7 separate regions of the Homo sapiens genome follow, and all the other regions are linked to region 2. Evidence: promoter capture Hi-C in 16 types of primary human blood cells and fetal thymus (Javierre and others, 2016). All regions are on one chromosome and are shown on one strand. The core of a region is centred on a gene start or on the middle of the fragment in contact, and the rest is flanking DNA. Distances in the headings are between cores, read along the strand shown.

Evidence for each region. The method cuts DNA at HindIII sites, captures the fragments that hold promoters and counts their contacts. A CHiCAGO score of 5 or more calls a contact.
Region 1: a fragment that was not itself captured here is called in contact with the fragment with the promoter of MASP1 in region 2 in 4 of 17 cell types (neutrophils, activated CD4 T cells, fetal thymus and 1 more); the score reaches 8.8 in neutrophils.
Region 3: a contact is called between a fragment that was not itself captured here and the fragment with the promoter of MASP1 in region 2, in 1 of 17 cell types (fetal thymus). The highest score is 5.7, in fetal thymus.
Region 4: a contact is called between a fragment that was not itself captured here and the fragment with the promoter of MASP1 in region 2, in 1 of 17 cell types (monocytes). The highest score is 5.3, in monocytes.
Region 5: a fragment that was not itself captured here is called in contact with the fragment with the promoter of MASP1 in region 2 in 2 of 17 cell types (monocytes and naive B cells); the score reaches 8.3 in monocytes.
Region 6: a fragment that was not itself captured here is called in contact with the fragment with the promoter of MASP1 in region 2 in 1 of 17 cell types (naive B cells); the score reaches 5.3 in naive B cells.
Region 7: a contact is called between a fragment that was not itself captured here and the fragment with the promoter of MASP1 in region 2, in 2 of 17 cell types (total CD8 T cells and non-activated CD4 T cells). The highest score is 5.8, in total CD8 T cells.

The regions. Positions count from the first base shown.
Region 1 is chr3:189,193,004-189,196,090 of GRCh38, reverse strand. All of the region lies in intron 1 of TPRG1 (tumor protein p63 regulated 1), which reads right to left. Among named protein-coding and RNA genes, the nearest start is that of TPRG1, 23 kb to the right of the region's middle. The HindIII fragment of the contact is 2,483 bases long and covers 24-2,506 here.
Region 2 is chr3:187,289,984-187,293,517 of GRCh38, reverse strand. MASP1 (MBL associated serine protease 1) reads left to right here and starts at 1,781. Exons shown (of 11, transcript NM_139125.4): 1 at 1,781-1,890. The coding sequence starts at 1,886. LOC101929130 (a long non-coding RNA gene) reads right to left here and starts at 2,246. Exons shown (of 2, transcript NR_135551.1): 1 at 1,982-2,246. The HindIII fragment of the contact is 4,632 bases long and covers 10-3,534 here.
Region 3 is chr3:189,093,365-189,096,645 of GRCh38, reverse strand. All of the region lies in intron 2 of LOC107986167 (a long non-coding RNA gene), which reads left to right. It also overlaps a transcript of TPRG1 not described here. Among named protein-coding and RNA genes, the nearest start is that of TPRG1, 77 kb to the left of the region's middle. The HindIII fragment of the contact is 1,154 bases long and covers 1,067-2,220 here.
Region 4 is chr3:188,990,076-188,993,505 of GRCh38, reverse strand. It overlaps the pseudogene ENOPH1P1. Among named protein-coding and RNA genes, the nearest start is that of TPRG1-AS1, 44 kb to the right of the region's middle. The HindIII fragment of the contact is 352 bases long and covers 1,140-1,491 here.
Region 5 is chr3:189,062,506-189,065,662 of GRCh38, reverse strand. LOC107986167 (a long non-coding RNA gene) reads left to right here. Exons shown (of 5, transcript XR_007096249.1): 5 at 1,243-1,783. It also overlaps a transcript of TPRG1 not described here. Among named protein-coding and RNA genes, the nearest start is that of TPRG1, 110 kb to the left of the region's middle. The HindIII fragment of the contact is 765 bases long and covers 919-1,683 here.
Region 6 is chr3:189,007,073-189,010,559 of GRCh38, reverse strand. It overlaps a transcript of TPRG1 not described here. Among named protein-coding and RNA genes, the nearest start is that of TPRG1-AS1, 61 kb to the right of the region's middle. The HindIII fragment of the contact is 7,683 bases long and covers 1-3,487 here.
Region 7 is chr3:189,174,252-189,177,822 of GRCh38, reverse strand. All of the region lies in intron 1 of TPRG1 (tumor protein p63 regulated 1), which reads right to left. Among named protein-coding and RNA genes, the nearest start is that of TPRG1, 4.1 kb to the right of the region's middle. The HindIII fragment of the contact is 2,039 bases long and covers 738-2,776 here.

The DNA of each region.
Region 1 (3,087 bases), core at 16-2,515, 1.9 Mb before region 2:
TGCCTCAAATCCCTGAGAAAGCTTTGTTGGCCTATGAAGCAAAAGAAACCTGCTCTCTGAGAGAGGTGATGTCAGCAAGATGGCCGGCTAGAAGCCCCCTAGCACTCTACTCTTTACAAAGACAGTCAGAACAATAAATAAACAACTACATTTTAATGAAAATAACCAAGGAAGGGCACCAAAGTACATCAGGGGAGTAACAGAAACCCTGGTAAACACAGAAATTTGGGATTGTTACGTAGAGATGGGAAGGAAATGCCAGGCCTCTACCACTCCATCCCTTAATCAGGATCACCTAGGAACTAGGAGGAACTTCTGTCTACAACAAGGAAGAAAGCAAGAGGATCCTAGGAATCCCCATCAACACCTTGGACACCAATAGATTTCAACCCTGGGATCCCCAGCTGTGCTCACAGGCACTAAGCCCAGCTGTGGGAGCTGACTGGAGTCCACATAGCTGTGCTCCCTCCAGAGGAGATGCTGACACTGTGCCCTGCCCCCTGTGGCCCACACGGCTACTGCAATACACTGTCTTGAATTAGAACTATGGCTAGAGTGTGTCTTGCTCTAGCGGTGAGTAGTCATGGCTCTCCTTTATCCTTGAGGCTAAGCTACTGCCAAACCACCGCAGACCAGTGGCCAAATATCCTCAAGCCAAGCCACAATCAGCTGTTACAGCTTTCTCTGTTGAGTCGAGCAGAGGTGAAGCCACTTCACCTACCACTCCCGCTGCCTTTTCAGCTAGAGCTGAAGCAGGACTCTGCCTCTTGGGAAATAGTACTTTAGCCACTAAGAGAAGCCACACCTCCCTAGTGTCTAAATTGAAGTAGTTCCCTTCATCCCAGGAAACAGTGCCTTGACCACCAAGAGTGGTCATGCACCCCAGTACCTAAGCTGAAGCAGCAACCTGCATCCCAGGAAAACAGTGCCTAGGTGGCCCAGAACAGTCACCATACCCTCAGGCCTGAGCTGATACAACATATCACCCCCTAGGGAATCAGTGCCCTGGTTAAGCTGAGCAGCTTTGCATCTCAGGGTTGGGCTTACATAGTACCCCATGCTCCAAGGAAACAGAGCAGTGGCTGAGCTGAGATACCTCACCTTATAAGCCAAATAAGTCTAGTACCTTTGGAGCTGGACTAGCCCCCTAGAGTGGTGTCTTAGCTGCTGAGACACCCCTCTTCCTGGGGAGTGAAGTCATCACTGTGCTGTCCCCAGCCCAGCTCCAGGGCTCAGATAATAGCCATGCTCCACCGTTCTGGGGTACTGTTGCCACTGCACCTGGCCTCACAGAGGCTGAGATACTGCTGAGCCCTGAAATCCCAGGGTCTATAGCTACTACTACACAGTATCTCATTCCCTGGGACTCAAGCTGCCACTGAGCCCTGTTGGCACAGGTTTCCAAATTGCAGCCATACTCTGCTCTGCAGGTCCAAACCTCTAGGACACTCCCTTTTCCCCACAGATGTGCCAGTACTCTGAGCTCCCACCCATGGGTAGAATCACAATCATGACACAGACTCCTGAGCCCAAGCTGTTAGGAGATGCCTCAGAGTCACAGATCCAGGCTCTGTGGGCAACCTGTATTCAACCAGCCAAAGAGAGAAAACTTGCAGCCAAAGACCTAGGTGTCACAATAGGTTCATGTAACACTGAGCCCAGGACCTTTGCACCACAGCTGCTATGATTACCTGTACCTGGAACCCAGCACCACTGCAGCTACTTGTAGGCTGTGTCAGACCTGATAATAAAAGGGATCTCCTTGGCTAAGTCTCTCCACTGTAGGAAAAGTAAGGAGAGAAGAACCCCAAAGCGCTTGATACCTAGAACATTAACAACCTATGCTGTCATGGCCACAGGCTTCTACAGCCTAGGCCACTGAGGTGCCCACACTTACTACTGACATTGAATACAGCTAAAGAAGCTGCACAGAGATCATACCATTGCACCTATGCAGAAAAACGGTCACTACACCCTTCACAACCAGCAGGCAAAAAAAACAACAGCAGGTGCAGGTGAAAATCTTTCTTTATGAAAGCTATTGTAGAAAGTTTGCAAGAGATGATTGACCATATGCACAGACAGCAACACATGAATAAGAAACATGAAAAAGCAAGAAAATATGATGTCACCAACAAATTATAATAATTATCTAGTAGCCGACCTCAATAAATAGACAAATAAATGAATCGCCAGGAAAAGGAATTCAAAATAATCCTCTTAAGGAACAAGAAACAAACAACCAAAAACATACGGACAGACGATTCAACAAAATCAGGAAACCAACTCATGGTATGAATGAGAAATTGCACAGAGATAGTAGACATACATAAAGCAGCAAACAGAAATCCCGCAGTATTCTGAATAAGTTGATTAATAAAAGAGACAGCCTCAACAACAGACTTGATCTAGCAGAAGAATCTCTGAATTTGAAGATAGGTAATTTGAAATTACAAAGTCAGAGAAAAAAAAAAAGAACTAAGAATGAAAAGGAGTGAGGAAAGCTTACAAGACTTATGGACACTATTAAGTGAACAAATATTTGTATCATGGAAGTTCCAGAAAGAAAAGAGAAGGGAAAGTGTATGGAAAACCTATCTAATAAAATAAAGCTGAAAGCTTCCCAAGTCTGGGGAGAGATATGCATATTTAAATCTGGGAAGCAAAAAAGTACCCAAATAGATTAAACCCAAAAGTTTCTCTGTGAAGCACAGTGTAGTCAAACTGTCAAAAGTCAAAGAGAATCTGGGCAACACAACAAGGCTCCAATTCCACAAAATATTAAAAATTAGTTGGACATGGTATCATGCACATATAGTCCCAGCTACTCAGGAGGCTGAGGTGGAAGACTTGCTTGAGCCCAGAAGTTCAAGTTTGCAGTGAAATGGAATTATGCCACTGCACTCCAATCTGAGTGACAAAGCAAGACCTCATCTCAAAAAAAAAAAAAAAAAAAAATTAAAAGTCAAAAACAAAGAGAGAATTCTAAAAACAGCAAAATAAAAACATCAAGTCACATATAAGAGAATCCCTGTAAGACTAAACAGCAGATTTCTCTGCAGAAACCTTACAGGCAGGTAGAAAAGA
Region 2 (3,534 bases), core at 532-3,031:
TGCCAAGCTTGGCAAGGCTGGCATTCAAAAGTGTGAAAATTAGAGAAACTGGAGAGAAAATGGAGTAAGAAGTACAGTGAGAGTCAAGCCACTGTTCCCCAGAACGTGCCAAAGGAACGTTATCTGAGGGTAGACAGTGCATGTGTCTGCCGCTTTGGTGAGTGTGGCTGGCAGCCCTCTCTCTGGTACTCCCCTGGACACTTCTACAAGCACAGTCTTATTTAAGCCTCATAGTAACTCCCATTTTCCAAATGAAGACACAGAATCAGATACCTTAAGTATTGTGCCCAAAGTACACAGCTGTCTTGGGTAGAAAGGAAAGATTACAGCTAAACTCTGAGTCTAATCTTCTTTTCAAAATGACTCAGATTGAGTTTCTCTATGAATGCCGTCTGTGTGTGTGCATTTGAAATTCCATATGCATTATAAAATGTTAATGAGTAGCAGTGTAATACAGTGGCTAACACTTCAAATTCTGCCTCTATTACTTTCTAGCTGTGTGAACTTGGGAAAGTTACTTAACCTCTCTGGGCAATTTCCTCTGAAAAATGAGAATATTGCCAGCCATGTATACAACATATAAAGATGACTGAAAAGAATTCATATATTAAGTGCTTAGAGCAGTGCCTGACACGTAGCACTCAATAGCTGTTAGCTTCTAGTGCTAGTGGCAGTGGGGAGTCATAAATAACTGGATGATCTTGGCAAGTGGCATATTCTCTCTGAGCCTTAGTGTCCTCACTTGTAAAATGAGTATAACAGCAGCACTTTCACCAGTTTGCAAAAGTAACTTGAGATGATGTTAATGACTAGTACTGTGTCTAACACAGAAAAGGTGCACAGTCAAACTTAACTTTTACACCCAGATACACCTCTCCCTATTCAGTGTTGGTTGTTGTTGTTGTGGAGGGGGTAATTTTCTTATTATTCAGCTCATCTTAGATCTAGTGTTGATTTCTCCGGAAGCCATGGGTATAGACATATATACAGGCCCAGGTCTTTCTACACCCCTGGGGAGGTGAGATTTCTTGCTGCGATGGGCCCTTTCTGGGCTGGAGTAGAGCCGCACACACTCCGAGCAAGTAAACAGTGCCACAGGTATTGCTCATGGGGAGGAACAACCAGCCAACTTCAGGACTTGGTGCTTCCCCAGTTCCGGGCCCGTGGCTCTGTTCACAGGAAAACCTGTCGTTGTGTGTGACTCTGATCACGAGAAAACCTGTAGTTATTTGGGGCTCTGCTCACAAGGAAACCTGTAGTTATTTGCAGACAGACGCTCTGGGATTTAGACCTTTTTTTTTTCTTCTAGTGTAGGTGCTAGAATTGCCTTCTTAGTTGGTTGTTTCTATTTAATTGCTTTTCTTTCATGGGTGTCCTGAAGAAAAGCAGAAAATTATAGTCATCTGGCAAAAAAGACTAAAGAGAAATTAGACTTTGTCCCCTTTCACTCTCTCTCTCTCTCTCTCTCTACACACACACACACACACACACACACACACACAGAGTGATACAAATACCTGCTTGAGCCCCTCAGTTATTTTCTCTCAAGGGCTGAAGTCAGCCACACAGGATAAAGGAGGGAAGGGAAGGAGCAGATCTTTTCGGTAGGAAGACAGATTTTGTTGTCAGGTTCCTGGGAGTGCAAGAGCAAGTCAAAGGAGAGAGAGAGGAGAGAGGAAAAGCCAGAGGGAGAGAGGGGGAGAGGGGATCTGTTGCAGGCAGGGGAAGGCGTGACCTGAATGGAGAATGCCAGCCAATTCCAGAGACACACAGGGACCTCAGAACAAAGATAAGGCATCACGGACACCACACCGGGCACGAGCTCACAGGCAAGTCAAGCTGGGAGGACCAAGGCCGGGCAGCCGGGAGCACCCAAGGCAGGAAAATGAGGTACGTGCCAGGGGAGGAGAGGGCACGGTTCCCTTTTGGGGACCAGTGTCAAATAGCAGGGAAGGTCTGACCTTGTCACTGACAGACTCACCTGCGTGTCCTGCATGTGGTAGTGAGGGGCTTTCTCATCAATTCTTAGGGCTCTGAGAAGGGAGCTGTGGGTGGGCTGGGTGCCTTCCCCAGGACTCCAGGAGACATAAAACTTGAAACGGGAGACTTCGTGCAAATCCTGCTCCGGACGCTGCTGAAGCTCAGATTTCTCCCACTGCCTGCACAGGGTGCTGCCTGCTGGCGAATGTGACTCTCCTCCTGTTCACCCACAAGGCTGATTTTTCCGTGTTCCTCCTCTGGAAAGAGCATTGCTTTCTCTCTTCCAGCACTTTGTGAGTTAGATATGTGTTTGTGTGTTCATTCCTTCTGACCAGAAAAGAAACCAGCTTCCCATAGCTTGGCTCTGTGGTTTCTTCAACCTTTACAAGTTTGCCAGTTAAACCTCAATTTAGAAAACTAAAAATCTGTCCCCATTTTACAGTTCCCTATAAATTTTCTGCATTTCTCATTGAAATCAGAGGCAGCTGGTGGCATGAATCAGGCTATGAAGTACACCAAATGGCTCTTAAAGAGATATCATACTTAAAAAAAAAAAAAGGATTTTAGAGTTCTGAAATCAAGAACTTCAAATTCTAATTGGTTTTAAACTCTTTAACCTTTCTTATTCCTCATTATACTTGACACTCCTTACCAGACCTTTCATACAAGTTCTATCCTGCAAGTCTGAAAACCCAACCACCCTAGTTATTTTTATTAGTTAAGTGTTAATGCTGTTACACACACACACACACACACACACACACACAATGCTCTGCAGATGTGTAAGTCCCTAAACACATCTTTTACTATTAATTTTCTTTTCACTTGGGAAAGTGTTTTTATTTGTTTCTCTTCTGCAAAGTAACCTAGCAACTTTTCTGGACCTGAGACCAATGAGAGGCTTCAGACTATGTTAACTCTTTGAACTCCGATTACCTGTGGTTCAGAGAGATAACCAGGTCCTTAAAAAGTGAGTGCAATAATTCTGTTCTTCTTAAAGCCATAGTAATTTTAAACCTGCCATTAAACATCATTTTTCTTTCTCCAAAAAAAAGTGATTTATGTCAATCTACATTGAATGATAATCTCATTTATCTGTCAATGATCTGGTCTGAATCCCACCCTACCATTCAGTGCCCCAGCCCATATCAAACTACTTGGCTGAGTAACAATTCTGTATCTTTGCATATGCTCATCCCTCAACCTGGAGCAACCTTCTTCTTTATTTTCCACCTAGAAGACCTGATTGTTCAAGCTGGCACAAATATCTCTTTCTCTCTCCTGACCACCATATTCCAGAGTGAGCATCCCCTCCTTTGTCCTTTGTTCTGTTTCTGTCCCTTGAAGCTGCATCTCTTATTGTCCTTGTAGTATCCCCTTGTTTAAATGTCCACCTCCCCTTACAAGTCTCAGCACTCCTTAAGTTACATGATCTATGTCTTCATCTTTGTATGGCCAGCACCTAGCATAATGTCTATTTCCTACCAGCCATTCAATACCTATTTGTTGAATTGAATTCAATTTTTGAATAGCCAAGCAACTACGAGAAAGGTG
Region 3 (3,281 bases), core at 394-2,893, 1.8 Mb before region 2:
AAATATGAATAGATCTAACTAACATAAGCAAAAGCTCTTTGGAGTCCTTAATCATTTTAAAGCACACAAAGGAGTCCTGAAGCCAAAATGTTTGAGCACCACTGCTGTAGAAGAACAGGTCAGAAGGAAGAAAAGATCAATCTCTTGGTATCAGACACTATGAGGAATCCAGCTCTTATAGAGCTCATAATTTAATAGGAAGGTAAACATGCAGATCTATAGCTGCTCTACAAGCACAGGCATGCCACAGCAGAGGAGAGATGAAGTGCTCCACTCAAGTGGAGAGAAGAGGGGTGAGAGAAGTCTTCACAGAGAAGGTAACACTCGAGAAGCCAGAATAGAAACTGAGGATTCAGAAAACAAAACCAAAGAAAAGACAGTAGTGATGGGGTGGCACTAGGGCCTCCCAAGCAGGGGGAAGAGCCCCAGGACAGGAGAAGGAAGGTATACTGAGTGGAGAGCAAGCATTCCATTTGATGCAACTGAGGTGTGGTATGCAGAGCCTGCTGGGAGAAGCCTCCTATACAACTGGTGTTTAATAACTGTTTGCAAGATTAATGTGCACATGAAAACAATGATTGACCATGAATGCAGTTAGCAGTGTCTTATCGTTTCCAATTCCCACAGTATACATGAGCAAACGTTATGGATACGACTGATAGAGGTCAAGAGAAGTGAGATGATTCATGCCAAGTGCAAATCAGAGACAGAGCTGGGCCCTGACCAAACTCCCCTCTCCTCTCCCAAGGTCTCATTCACCAGACAACATTTTATAACGTTAGGCCCTGGCTGAGCTTCTTCTATCCCAACCTGAGAAGGATACTGAAGAATGAATAAGGGAAAGACAGACATAAGCTGTGAGGTTCATCACTCAATGTACTTCTGAATGCCCACTTCCTGACAAGAGCAATGGGGATTCTGAGATGAAAAGATGCTGTTTTTGCCCGCAGAGACTTATGAACAAGACATTCAGGGGAGAGAAACCCATCTGACCATGACTTAGAGAGTTCAGTGCTAACCTAAGTACAGAGTATAGAGAGGAGCTTTGCCTGAAGTTGGCGAAGCTTTCCAGAGAGGATGGAGAAGACGAGAGTAATTCAAGAGATTTTTAAAGAACGGAGACTGATGAAACAATACTAATACATCAATCCTAAGGCCTTGAAGGGCAGGGACTCTGTCTTGTTTGGCTATGGGTCCCACATACCTAGCATCATGCATGCCACCGCAGAGACATTCCATAAATATCAGATGAGATACTCTGAACTCAAGGGCAAGGAAGAGACATGCCACTGAGACACAATTTTGAGTATGCCATGAATTATCTATGCTCTGGTCTATGACTCCCCCACTCTCCCTTTGTTCATCATTAGAAACCTTGCCAGTCTTCATTACCCAAATCTGCCTCTAGCAGGCAGCCTCTCCTAGACTGGCAATTAGAAGGTAAAAGATGTCCTGTTCCATTGCAGAGCCTTGCAGGTACTCAGAACAAATGAAACAACAGCCACTGAAGATCAAGTCTTTGTTTCACCTTCACACAACCTCTCTGTCATCTCCCTCTCTCAGCAGGCAGGGGCCAGAAGAATTGCATTGGTACCCTAGTCGTGAGCCAGACTCTCTGTAAGGAAGTCTACAATCAATACACATGACACAAGACTGATATGATGCCCCAGAACGGAGAGTGCCTCTGTAAAACTGATGCCAATCATTTTCTACGGTTGTGCATCCTGCTCCTCCAGGATGGATGGGCCTGCTCCCTGCCTCGACCAGAGCAAGGAGGAAGGCTTCAGTGATGGATGACAGCAAGAGGATTGTCACCCTAAAGAAGGGGAGTTATGGAGTTCTCTCACCTCCCCCATCAACATTGACACACACAGATACTCAGCACTACCTATCATGTCTCAAATCGCCTAAATTTAAGACACTTCCTCTTTTTGGGATTGGCTGCCAATATACAAGTGGCAGGCAAGAGAAAATCAATTACACCTGGGTGAAGTTGAGTGCTATAATTCAAACAGCTGCGTGAGTCAGAACAAATGACGCAAATTTAAGATGCAAGCCGGAGTCTGTGAGGAGGTGGAGGGATTTCAGCTGGATAAATAGCAGGTTGATCTCCAAGCTCAAGGACGTGAAGCAGTTCTGACAACCTGGGACCTCTTAAAGAGCCATTTAACGGGGATTGTCAGCATTTTGAATAGATCCTTTTTCTTCAGAAACAAAGCTTTAAAAGTAGGCATGCAGAGGCATAGTGGAATGAGGAAGAGAAGGAGGGGGCAGTTATGGAGTGTTGGAAGAAGAGAGAAAAATTGTACTGGAGAACATCTCTTCATTTTGTGAGATCCAGGGGCAACGTTGCCTCCTTCACAATGTCTGTTCAGTACTCCACTTACTCAGGCTGAGTGAGGCCCCCTTTCCACTTACTTCATACGCTACCCTGTTACAGTACATATAATGTGTTTTAGCACTCTGTTCCCAAAAATATCTCTGTTTAGGACTCATCTGATGGTCCCTGAACCCAAGAATTTCATGGAATTATCTTTGTGTCCCAGGGTTCGAGCTTAGGGCAAGGCCCATGGTAGAAACTCCGTGTGTTTGGAGGCTGTATCTTTCAGTGAGATTCAAGTTACAAACTGAAAAATGAACAATTTATTAAAAATATAGATAGATTCAAACCAGGCTGATGTCCCGAGGGCTGCTTTGACCATCCCTTTTCTGTTGGGCTGCTTTCTTTATCCAGAATAATATTATCTAACCCTAATTAAAGACAAGTAGAAAGGCCCGTAGAGGCACGGTCAACTCTAAAGATGCAGATTTTATAAGTACAGAACATCAGGATTGTGTTTCCTTTGCAAAACAAATGCCTTTACAAACAGTGGAAAACATTTTAAGAGTGTGAGCTTCAAATTTCCCAGAACCCGAAATATTGGAATTTAGTGGCATGAGCCCAAAATACCAATGGCTTCACCTGTCTTTCCATTGTCTATCCACATCCTGAAAATGAAAGGAAATAGCCCCGAGATGAAAGATCACATTTAGCTGCAAATTCAAACCAGGTTCCAAGATTCAAATGGCTTCTTCTTTGGTGTCTAAATAAATATTGCTAATAAAATCCCCGCGAGCCCACAAAATAAGAGACCATTTCATTCAGCTCACAGAAACAATCCATACAACACAGAACAAGATGTCTCTCCAATAAATTTATGAAAATCTGCCTGTTTAGAAGCCAAAATTAATATTCCTCCTGTTCTCCTGGGTCAAATCTGTAAGGTCACCACAGCCAGGGC
Region 4 (3,430 bases), core at 66-2,565, 1.7 Mb before region 2:
ATTATCTGTCTGGCTCTGAGTTCTATTATCTGTTGTGAATTGGTGCAGGGCTCTGTAAAACAGTTTTTAGGCAGCCTCATTACACCCTTCCACACCTTCTGCTCCATCTGAGTGATACTGCTGTGATTGCTGGGTAATGTTTGCCATTAGACGAGGCACAAAAAAGAATCAAGCTATGACTAATTCACTCGATGGCTGTGTGCCCTGTGTCATGCTCATTAACACCTCTCAACTCTGTTATTAAAGAGAATCACACAGCAGACCTCAGCGGGCTCACATTTATACTATAGGCTGCCTTATTTTTCCATTGGAACCCCATTTTTATCACAGACTAGTCCTGAGCACCCTTACCTTCTACCCCAGGCCTATTCCATCCTGTTACACTCATAAATGCTTAGGAGAATCTACTGATAAGAAAGGCCTTTAGATTGTCTGAAAATGAGGGTTTTGCCCACTGAAGAATCAGCCAATTTGATTTCAGCTGAAAAGTCATCCTGAGATGCTCCTAATGAAAGCTCAATGAAAGAAATAACAATAACAACACCTTAAACTATTTGTTGAATTTATTAAAGTATATCCAGCCCTTTTATAACCATTATTTCCCTTGAGGTTCACAGCAACCCTGTATGGTAAGCTGCATAAACAGTACCCTACTATTAGCTTCAACACTAGATTTCTAACTCAGAGGCGACATTATATAAAAGACTAATAGCTCATCTACAATGCTGAGCAAAATGTAAAGGAATAGCATCATTTTTGTTAGGCTTTCTCAAGCATAGTAATCAAAGTAATAGAAAAAGCAGAAAGAGAGAGCGAACATTTTTCTTAGTACTGACTCATGTGTTCTAAGATGATAGGGGCATCATACTTACCTTCCTTAGTCATTTAACTCCAACTGAATAGTCAGTCAGTCAGAAGTCCATAGGACTTTGGGGTCCATAGGGTAAGTATTGCAATTGTTCACCAATATCTAGATATGCTCTACTTCTGAGTACATGAAGGATTCCACTAATCCACCTCTCGAAGTTGGACATGGCCATTTGACTTGATTTGACCATGAAATGTGAGTGGAAGCATTTAATTGCAGATACAGGATTCTCTAGTTTGGCTCTTCCCGTACCATAAGAATTGTAAAAGCTTGTATCTATATGGGGAGACCAAAATATTTAAGCAATTAAAATACTGAGTCAGCACATGGGACACAGTTGTCCTGTAGAAACACCTAGATCTTCAGTAGAAACCGAATGAGCAGTAAATAAGACTGTGTCACCAAAAAAAAAAAAAAAAAAAAAAAAAAAACTACTGTAGGTCAGGTGCAGTGGCTCACACCTATAATCCCAACACTTTGGCAGACCAAGGCAGTAGGATCACTTGAGGCCAGGAGTTTAAGACCAGCCTGGACAACACAGCAAAACCTAGTCTTTACAAAAGAATAAAAAAGTTAGCTGGGTGGGGTGGCATGTGCCTGTAGTCCCAGCTACTTGAGAAGCTTAAGTGGGAGAATCATTTGGGCCAAGGAGATTAAGACTGCAGTGAGCAGTGATTGCACCACTAGACTCCAGCCTGGGTGACAGCCAAACTCTGCCTCGAAAAAAATAATTACTGAGATTTTGGTGTTATTTGTTACCAGAGCATAACCTAATCTCTACTGACTGATGCAATCTTCGTTTGCTCTAGACGTATCATACAATTGAGCTATTTTTAGAAACAAAAAAAATTAGAAAAACATTAGAAATGAAAAAATGGGGAAAAACACTGTAATTGGGCTAACTTGAATACTATGTCCTCCATGGAACAATAAACTACAGCCAAGGTTAGGATCAAGGTCGTGAAAAATCATGGTAGCTCAACTAACACTAATTAATTGGAATCAAAAAAAATAAGAGTTTCTAAATAGAAATAAGAAGTATCAATAATAAAGAGAAGCCCTCTTTGGATTGTATCTTAGGGTGAATCCATTGGGGAAAGTGATGATAACAAAAACAAATTCAACTTTGGGAGGCCGAGGCGGGCGTGTCATGAAGTCAAGAGATCGAGACCATCCTGGCTAACATGGTGAAACCCCGTCACTACTAAAAAATACAAAAAAAATTAGCCAGGCGTGGTGGAGGGTGCCTGTAGTCCCAGCTACTCGGGAGGTTGAGGCTGGAGAATGGCGTGAACCCAGGAGGTGGAGCTTGCAGTGAGCCGAGTTCACGCCACTGCACTCCAGCCTGGGCAACAGAGCAAGACTCCGTCTCAAAAAAACAAATTCAATATTCTGGTGGGAAAGGGAGATCCAATTATCTCTAACATGGGTCAGTGACAGAATTTAGCAATGTATTTCTAACTATTTGAATAATTTTCCAGAAAGAGATTTCCTGGGCCAGCCGGATGCTTTTCTGTCCATTCTCTCTCCTACTATAGGGCACCACTTACTCACCAGAAAAACTTGAAGCCTGAACTGGAAGCCTTCTATCTAGATTCTCCAGAACCTCCTTTGCTCTATGATTCCAGATTTGACTTTGCTGATAAGAAGAACTCACATGAGATTTTGAAAGGCAGGACTTGGGGGATCAAGGCAGGCACATAGCTAACCAGAAGGAAGTTATTCAGCTAACCAAAATAGTCAGCTGGGGGCTCTCCCTGAAAATCAAGAATTGCAGCAGTTTCCTAATACATTTTATAACTACTCACTACAGAGTTTCAGGGTTTTTTCCCTAACATTTTGGATATACCCTTCCTGATTTCTCTCCCAGGTAATCCCTAATTTCTATATTAAACTTTACTATTTCTGCATTGCTTTACATGACTGTTTTCCTGTTCTAACAAGGACTGGAACAGGTAGAGATCTAGTTGGATACAGGTAGAGAGATTCTAGGCTGGTTGACTATAAAGTACTTAAAATGGTCAAAAATCAGGGTAGGTTTGGTAAAGAGATAATGAAAGAAAGAGAGAGAGAATGAGAATGAATCAGCAAATTGATTGAATTCCCTTTGAAATAATACAGCAAACCCCAGGGTCCTACATCAGAGGACATATTTCCCTACAAAATGTTTGAGTTTTTTTTTTCTTTTACTATGAAAGATACAAGTGATACAATTGATGAAATGTGAATAATATCTATAAGATTAAATAATGTTGCATTCAAGTTAATTTCATGATAATGATTGTACCCTGGTTATGTAAAAGAATATTCCTATTTTTTGGATGAATTCAGGGCTTCTGGGCAGCAGCCTTCTCTAGTTCCGGGTGTGCAGAGGTGGCCTCTCCCAACACAGGCCAGGCTGCACACAGTCGCTGGCTCCAGGACTGTACAGGGCCGCAGTCCACGTTGCTCTACATCCTCCCTACCGTCAGGCAGATTCCCATAGTAGCATCCAGTAGGGAAATGGTCGTGCTTTCAGTGCCCACTGAAGTCAACCTGATCCCATTAGACGTGGAAGGACAT
Region 5 (3,157 bases), core at 52-2,551, 1.8 Mb before region 2:
ATAGTAATTCCTATTTATAACTTGCTAAATGTTTTTATCCTGATAAATGTTTGATATTGTGAAATATTTTTTCTGCATCAATTGATATCATCATTGCCTTTTTTTTTTAGCTTTTGGACATGGTATATTACATGAATGATTTTTGAGTGTTAAGTCACTTTTCTATACCTGAAATAAATCTGTTGTTCATGATCTATAATTCTTTTTAAATATTGTTAGATAGGGATTGTTAATATTTTGTTTAAAATGTTTACATCTAAAATCATGAGGGATACAAGTCTGTGACTTTCTTTCTTTGTACTGTCTTTGTTTGGTATTGGTATCAGAGTACTACTGGTCTCATAAAATAAGGTAATAAGTGTTTCCTCTCTATTCTCTGGAAGAAATTGTGCAAAATTTGTGTTAATGCTCCTTTAAATGTTTGGTATTATTCTTTAGTAAAATCATTTTGGTCTCAAAATGGTATTTTTTTACTTCTTTTTTTTTAAGAGACAGTCTAGCTCTGTTACCCAGAATCAAGTGTACTAGCATAATTTTAGCTCACTGCAGCCTTGAGTTCCTGGGCTTCAGCAAGCCTCTTGTTTCAACCTCTTGAGTAGCTGTGCGCCAACACATACAGCTAATTTTCAAACTTTTTGTAGAGATGGAGTCTCACCTTGTTGTCCAAGCTGGTCTCAAACTCCTAATCTCAAGCAATCCTCCCATCTCAACCTCTCAAAGCACTGGGATTACAGGTGTGAGCCACTGTGGCCAACCTTGAGATTTCTTAATTATTAGTTTTTAAATTATTAATCCAATTTTGTAATGATTCTAAGACAACTTACATTATCTATTTCAACTTGTTTGAGTTTTTGTGGTGTCTAATTTTTTAGGAATTTGTGTATTTTTTTAGTTGTTGAATTTATAGCACATAAAGCTTTTCACAGTATTCTCTAATTAGCAATGTAATGGCTGCAGCATCTATCATAATATCCTCTATTTCATTCCTGATATTAGGGATGTCATCTCACTTTTTATTTTTACTAGTATTGTTAGAGATTATTGATTTTACTGACTTTTTTGAAGAATCAGCTTTTGCTTTCATTAACTTTGTCTATCATTTCTCATTTTAAATCTTATTAATTTCTGCTATAATCTTTCTTATTTTTTCTTATGCTTGCTTCGGATGTATTTTGCTTTTTTTCTAATCTTTTGTGAAAGAAATTTAGATTATTGATTTGAATTTTTTTTTCTTGTGTACAGGAAAGCGTTAACCCAGTTGTCCTGAGTTGCTCCAACTTTGCAGTTCTCAAGAAAGCCCTATTCTGTGGTGAGGCCTTAAACAGTTCTTGGGAATTGAGATCTTGGAATGTTCTAACTTCTAGGAATGCTTTAAACACTTGGGACCTTGAGCCATATTATGCCAGGCTTTCTAAATAGTTTGTATGAGGAATGTGATTTATGAACAAACTCATTTCCTTTGGGGACCTGGATCTTCAGCAACTGTAGTCAGTCCTACGGATACTATATCCCTATGTAACCAACCCACAATGAAAATTGTGAACTTATAGGCTTAGACAAGTCTCTGTAATAGACAAAACTTTACATGCACCTTCACAATTTATTCTTGGAAGAATTAAGTGCATCTTATGTGTATTAAGTGTATTTTCTAGTGACTCCACTAGAAGAATATTCTTAGAAGCTTGTGCCTGATTTTCTCCAAACGTTACCCATACACCTTTTCTCTTCACTGATTTTTCTTGGGACCCTTTACTATAATAAACCACAATCATGAGTATAATGACTTCTAAGTCCTAAAAGCTCTTCTAATAAAATCACCAAAACAGGAGTGGTCTTGGGGACCTCCAAAACACTTTGCTTCTAGAGTAAGTTTTTACTGCTATAAATTTCCCTCTCAGGACTGCTTTAGATGCATCCCATATGTTTTGACACATTATTGTTTCAATTTAATTTGGTTTTGTATATGTATTAAATGTCCTTTGAGATTTCCTTTTTGACCAATAAAGTATTTAGAAGTATGTTGCTTAATTCCCACATATTTTGAGAATTTCCTGTAGACTTTATTTATTTCTAGTTTGATTCCATTGTAGTCAGAGAAAACACACTGTATGATTTCAGTTCTTATAAATTTGTTGAGGTATATTTTATGGCTCAGAATATGGAATATATAACTGAATGTTAAATGGGCACTTGAAAAAAAGTTTATTCTGCTATTGTGTGGAGTTTTTACATATGTCGTTTAGATACTATTGGTGAATAATTGTGTGGTTCATATCTTTTAAGTATTTTCTGATTTACTGTCTAGGAGTTCTAGGAGTTCTATCAGTTGCTGAAAGGTAATGCTGAAGTACTGAATTATAACTGTAGATTTACCTATTTCTCCTTGCAAATCTATCAGTTTTTGCTTTATGCATTTTGAAGCTCTGTTTTTTGGTGTGTACATTTAGAATTACTACCTCTTCCTAGTAAGTTGATCCTTTTATTATTATGTAATGTGACTTTTTCTCTAGTAATTTTCTTTGCTCTGAAGTCCACTTTATTAGATATTAATACACCACACCTGCATTTTTGCTTAAAGTTTGCATGGTAAATTTTTTCTATTCCTTTATTTTCAATCCACCCATATCATTGAATTTAAAGTGAATTTCTTGTAATCAGTATATCATTGGGTCTTTTTTGTTCACTCTACCAATCTCTTTCTTTGATTGATGTATTCAGATAATTTATATTTAAGATAATTTTTGATATGTTGGTACTGAAGCCTAGTATTTTATTGTTTGTTTTCTATTTCATCTGGTTCTTGTTACTCTGTTACTCTTTTATTGCCTTCCTGTGGGTTATATGAAAATTTCTTATTATTCTATTTTGATTTATTTATAGTATTTCTCAGAGTATTTCTTTGTACAGCTTTTGTAGTTTTTTGTGGGGTGGGGATATTACAACATATACATATGGCTTATTATATGGCTTATCACATTCTACTGGCATCAACATTTCAGACATGGAATCCTCCCTTTAATTTAGGTCCATTTTCCTTCTCCACTTTTAAATATCATTGAATGTCAGATGGTAAGAGAATTTTTATTTCAGTGATCAATTATGATTTATAAAACTCATGAGGGGAAGGATAGTCCATTGTATGTACTCATATTTCTGC
Region 6 (3,487 bases), core at 660-3,159, 1.7 Mb before region 2:
AAACATGAAAAAAATGCTCAACATCACAGATTATTAGCGAAATGCAAATCAAAAACCACAATGAGATACCATCTCACACCAGTCATGGCTATTACTAAAAAGCTAAAAAATAGCAGGTACTGGTGAGGTTGTGGAGAAAAAGTAATGCTTATACACTGTTGGTAGGAGTGTGAATTAGCTCAGCCATTGTGGAAAATAGTGTGGTGATTCTTCAAATAGCTGAAGACAGAAATATCATTCAACCCAGTGATTCCATTACTGGGTATATACCCAAAGGAATATAAATTTTTCTATTATTAAGACACATGTTCACTGGAGCACTATTCACAACAGCAAAGACATGGAATCAACCTAAATGTCCATCAGTGATAGACTGGGTAAAGAAAATGTGGTACATATACACCATGGAATTCTATGCAGCCATAAAAAGGAAGAAGATCATGTCCTTTGCAGGGACATGGATGGAGCTGAAGGCCATTATCCTTAGCAAACTAATGCAGGAACAGAAAATGAAATACCTATGTTCTCACTTATAAGTGGGAGCTAAATGATGAGAACACATGAACACATGGTAGGGAACAACATGCACTGGGGCCTGTGGGAGGGCAAGGGGTGGGAAAGGATCAGGAAAAATAGCTAGTGGATGCTGGGCTTGATACCTGGGTGATGGGATGATCTGCGCGCAAACCACCATGGCACACATTTACCTATATAACACACCTGCACATCCTGCACATGTACCCCTGAACTTAAAATAAAAGTTGGAAATAAAAAAAAGAGAGAGAATTATTGCACCTGGGTGTCGACCACCTGAGAGTCATAAGATAACACTATTGGTAAATACTAGATATAAATATTATATTTATTTCTATTGGGAAAGAACTTTGCATTAATAAATGGAAAAAATGATCAGAAAGCATTAATAGAGAAGATTATGAGATGATTTTAGTTTTCTTGCTTTTTAAAATATATTTCTTTGCATTTCTGCAGGTGCTGTATATGTATATAAAATCAGGGGTTACTTTTACAATTGGAGGGGAAAAGAGACCTTTTCACTGAGTAGAATTTTTACTTATCCAATTTCGCAGGCCCTCCTTAAAGGGTCTCAATACATCTGCCTTCCCTAACTAGCATCATTCTCATCCTACTCCTTGGTCTAGTATACCCACTTCTCTTAGGTATTATTTACATTTACTAGGCCAATGTCCTTTCCCTCAGACCAGTCAAATAAATTATCAATATTAATGGGAGCTAATGAGTTAATAGGGTTAAGTTTTCCACAATCCTTCCACAACCCTAATGAACATACTTGGATTTTGATCATGGCTTCAGAAAACACACCCCAAATTTGGACTCTGTAGCTCTCATAGCCAGCCGGTGGGCCACGAAACAGTGGTGGAATCAGTGAATGCATTCTGGTTACTGATTGAAGATAACCAGAATGCATTCATTGATTTAGTAGGCCTACTCTGTGCTGGGGTAAACAATTAGTTCTATGGTATCAAATGAAAAGCCACAGCACAAAGGCAAATAGCAAATCCCCAGTTTACTCGCACACCCTTCTCAATCACCTTTGCCGACCCACTCATTCTCAATCCAGGAAGAGTAAAGAGGTCTTGGAGAGATAAGAAAAAGTACTGAGTTGCCCATTCTCTGCCATTAGGCACTATAGAATAATGCTTAAAAACTCTATTCAAACAGAGACAATATTTTATTGTGTTCTGTTGTGTTTTCCTCAGCACATCTTAAATCCCAAGGGACTAGCCCGATGGCTGTTTCCTTTTCCATACAATTTTGATGCCTTCCAGTGTCCATAAACTCTGAAATCTATTGTGCATGGAGCATGCACAATCTCTTACAGCAAGAAGAAAACCCAAATTAATAATCCCATTGCTTTAGAGCCTCCCAGGCTTCTTGTCAGTCCAAGAAAGACAGTAAAAAATACTGCTTTGGAAGGAAAAAAAAGCATGAATAGCAACTAATTTCTCATTTATACACTCAGTAGTTAGTTAAAGTAAAATTGTACTAATTCTTGGGCTGTGAACTACATTTTAGAAACCCAGGCCAAGGTTATTTCCACTACATTATGATTTGCAACTTTAGCGGCACATTGGAATCACCTGTAAAGCTATAATAATCACTGATCATCAATCATATTTGAAGAGATCCTAATTACATTGTTCTGGGTACAGCCTGTGCATGAAGAGTTTTAAAAGATGTCCAAGTGATTCCAATATGCAGCCAAACTTGTGAACAACTGATCACAGTGTGCTGCCTCTCCTAGTGACTAACTGCGAACAAAGTAGATTCCATCAACAGTGGACAAAGTCGATGGCACTCGCATTGCTCACCCCATTGGCCCCTCTCACCACTCACACACATGCAGATACATGTGTAACATGACCATTATTTTTATTTAACTGATGCCTGCTGTCTCCATTTAAAGTAGGATCCCTTGAATCATTTTTTTTTTTCTAGAACGTTTTTTTTTTTTTCTTTCTTTTCTTTTTTTATTATACTTTAGGTTTTAGGGTACATGTGCACATTGTGCAGGTTAGTTACATATGTATACATGTGCCATGCTGGTGCGCTGCACCCGCTAACTCGTCATCTAGCATTAGGTATATCTCCCAATGCTATCCCTCCCCCCTCCCCCCACCCCACCACAGTCCCCAGAGTGTGATATTCCCTTTCCTGTGTCCATGTGATCTCATTGTTCAATTCCCACCTATGAGTGAGAATATGCGGTGTTTGGTTTTTTGTTCTTGCGATAGTTTACTGAGAATGATGGTTTCCAATTTCATCCATGTCCCTACAAAGGACATGAACTCATCATTTTTTATGGCTGCATAGTATTCCATGGTGTATATGTGCCACATTTTCTTAATCCAGTCTATCATTGTTGGACATTTGGGTTGGTTCCAAGTCTTTGCTATTGTGAATAATGCCACAATAAACATACGTGTGCATGTATCTTTATAGCAGCATGATTTATAGTCATTTGGGTATATACCCAGTAATGGGATGGCTGGGTCAAATGGTATTTCTAGTTCTAGATCCCTGAGGAATCGCCACACTGACTTCCACAATCGTTGAACTAGTTTACAGTCCCACCAACAATGTAAAAGTGTTCCTATTTCTCCACATCCTCTCCAGCACCTGTTGTTTCCTGACTTTTTAATGATTGCCACTCTAACTGGTGTGAGATGGTATCTCACTGTGGTTTTGATTTGCATTTCTCTGATGGCCAGTGATGATGAGCATTTTTTCATGTGTTTTTTGGCTGCATAAATGTCTTCTTTTGAGAAGTGTCTGTTCATGTCCTTCGCCCACTTTTTGATGGGGTTGTTTGTTTTTTTCTTGTAAATTTGGTTGAGTTCATTGTAAATTCTGGATATTAGCCCTTTGTCAGATGAGTAGGTTGCGAAAATTTTCTCCCATTTTGTAGGTTGCCTGTTCACTCTGATGGTAGTTTCTTTTGCTGTGC
Region 7 (3,571 bases), core at 508-3,007, 1.9 Mb before region 2:
GGATGCATTGTCTACAGAAAATGTAAATGAAAAGAATTATTCTCATTATTACCATGTGATAGAGATTCTAAGTGATTTAGGTGATACAATACCCCTCTCTGCTGGCATGGGACCACTCTCACCACCCCCCTTCCCATTTGGTACACCACTGACTGGGTTCACTGCACCTCTCTAAACTCAAACATTCAGCACCCCAGAAGTCAGTCCATAAACCTCTCCTCTTTTCTATCGATACTAACTCCTTTGATTACCTCATTTGATTTCATTGCTGTGAATACCATATATATATATGTATATACATAGATAAGTATATGCATATATAAACAGACATATATATGTATATACATATATAAGTATATGCATATATAAACAGACATATATATGTATACATATATATGTATAGACATATATATGCGTATACATACATACATATATGATTCCCATTTTTTATCTTCGGCTCTGATATCCTCACTGAATACCAGATTTATACATTTACTCCCCACTTAACATTTCAAACTTAACCTGTCCATAAGTAAGCTCCTAATACTCCTTCAAAACTTATTCATCTCACCATCTTCTCCATCTCAAATAAAGGCCACTCTTTTCTACCTGTTGCTCAGGTAAAACTGTGGTGTTATACTTGACTTATCTGTCTCACTATCCCTCATTCTATATATCAGCCACTAGAATCAAAACATTCTCATTCCTGCACAACCAGCTACATCCTCATCCAAGCTTCCACATCATTCATCTGGATTATAGCAATAACTCCCTAAGAATCTCTCTTCTTCTGCCACCTCTCTCCCCACTTCATCCTCATCTGTTCTCAACACACAGACAGAAGGATACCTTTCAAACATAAGTCAGACCATGTCATTCATCTGCTCAAATCTGCAAATAGCTCCTATTTCAATCAGAGTGAAAGTCAAAGCCCTTATTGTGTCTTACAGGGCCCTGCATTATCACTTTTCCCTGTTCTCACTCCACAATCATCTAACTTCTAACTTCATCTCCCAAAATCCAAAGATCTTTCCACTCAGTTCGTTCCACGCCTTATTTTTCAAAGATGCCAGGCTGGCAAGCTCTTGCTTCAAGGCCTTTGCACTTCCTGTTCCAGCTGCCTGGAATACTCTTTCACCAATTAGTGCCTCGCTGACTCCTTCATATCCTTAAGTCCTTTACCCAAATAATGCCTCATTCCACCCTAAGCACCCTGTCCAAAATCTAGCTCTCCATAACTTTCTATCCTCTTTCTCTGTTCTATTGTTCTCCATATCTCATATATTACATATTTTACTGAATGGTTTTGTTTATTTTCTGTATCACTATAAATATAAGCTCCTTGAATAAAGAGATTATTATTTTTTTTCACTGCTGCTATTACCAGAACTACTTATGGGGTTGTAGAAAAGACACAATTTTCTTCCCAAAACTTAAAACAGATATTCAATAGCTTTCAATGAATGACACTTGAATAGACGTTTGAATTGAACCATTGTTCAATAAATAGTTTAAAATGAATGAATCTTGTTCAAACACCTCATTTTACTCTGTGTCACATCACCTACATACGTCTCTTGAGGCGCAGAACTCTGAGATATAAGTACAACTCTAAGCCAATCCCACACACAATCATACACATGAAAATGAGAAAAGTTTGGTTATTTATAAAATACCTTGGGGTTTGGAGTTGTGTAAATATTAAATATTGCTTTGGTGACAGTGTAGCCCTTTGCAAAACAAAATCTTTCCCTTCACCCACCTGGAATGCTGTGAAACACAGTGGAGCATGCATATATTTACGATTTTCTCAGTAATGTTTATTATGAAGGAATCCAGGGTCAGGATATCAAGAATCTTCTATGCCTGTTCCTTATAGAGTGACTGCTTCCCAGACCAAAGGACAAAGGTTACGTAATAAAAAATCTTCCCACATCACACAAGTTAAGAACTCAACTTGTGCATCATCATTTTTCTAACATTCAGATAACCCAGAGGAATAGACTTTCTTGAGAGAGAGAAACCTTTTCCATATTTTTAAATGAGTCTTATAGGTTGCTTAACATATTTTAAAAATATTTTTATCCATCTTTCTAATTCTACTGTATAGCACCACCTTGCCTTACTCACTTCACATGATACTGTGTATTGTATTCATGTAAGTGCTCAACTTAATCCTGTTCTTTTTTTTCTGTTACTTCTGAAAATCCTAATGTAGAGCTAAGGTGTGCCTACACAGACATTCTCTCACTGACGACTTACAAACTTGGATAACAATGAGCTAATAATCATGAACTAATGTCTGGTCAATAGCCGTAATGCCCATCAAAGACACCATGTTGTGCCTGATCTGAAACCCTGAGCCTGCCAGCACCCAGGATCTGGTGAAGACCCAGACTTCTGGCCTCATTCCACTTCAGTTCCACTGGCCCTATATTGAGCTGTAGTAAATGCTTCCTACCCTTCAAATATACTTCAAATAGTATTGACTTGGGAGTTTACTTAAACTCTTCTCTTGTTGAAAACTCTTCTCACGTCTATTGAGCCAAAGCCCAGTTCGAGTGCCATTTCATCCTTACAATTATCTCTGATGGCAACCTACCTAGTTGCCATAAATCTCTTCTTCGTGAGACCTCAATATTTGCTTTCTTCTTCGTCTTGAAATATTTATCATATTCTGTCTTGCATTATAGTTACTTGTGTACACATTTTCAATACTAGATGGTAAGCCCCTTTGAGAAAGGGTCTCTACTCTTTACCCCTAAATCCCTAAGCTTAGGGTTGTATAATACACCATAGGTGATCAAAAGGTGATTATTATATTAGTGGGTGAATAAGAGAAAACATATCATTAAGCTAGTCTCTAGTATTTCAGCAATTTGGATTCTTTGGAAACAGGGCATTATATTGCTATCTATGTGCTATCATACATCATAATTTCTTTTCTTGTTTTTATGCCATTGATCGATTGAGTAAAGAGGATTACCCTGCAAGTATCAACTGTCCTTCCTATTCTTTTATAGGCATCTAAATATTATGCTGCAGCAGTGTCATCTTGCTTAATACTTTAGCATTCAAGTCACTGAGTTTTGATAGCTAGCTGAAGAAAATATCCTGGGTAGGTATCAGAGCCAACGGTATGTTCTACTGAAGTCATCATATATCCTATATCTCTTACATAGTGAGAGGTTAGGAACAAATAATTAACTTCACCTCTTCCCTGGTGCCATTAACCTGTAGCCTGGTCTGTCATTATGTAGAACTAGGTTTCCGTTGAAAGAGAATGATTGAAAGGAATCCTAATACCTAAGAGATTGGAAGAGATCAGAAGTGGAAAATTCAAACACTTGGTAGCCTAAATCAGGTAAAATGGGAGCTGTGGAGGATGGGGGAAAACATGTTCTATCTACAGGAAGAAGTTGCTGCCCGGCCCCAGCACAGGTGTTATCCATGAGGGGATGTGGGTCCATTATTATCAGATCTCCTGATCTTCCTGAAAACAAGATATCTGGATTTTTTACAGGAAATTTCCTAGATATCAAATACTTTGGAACTAGTTTTATCTTGTTTA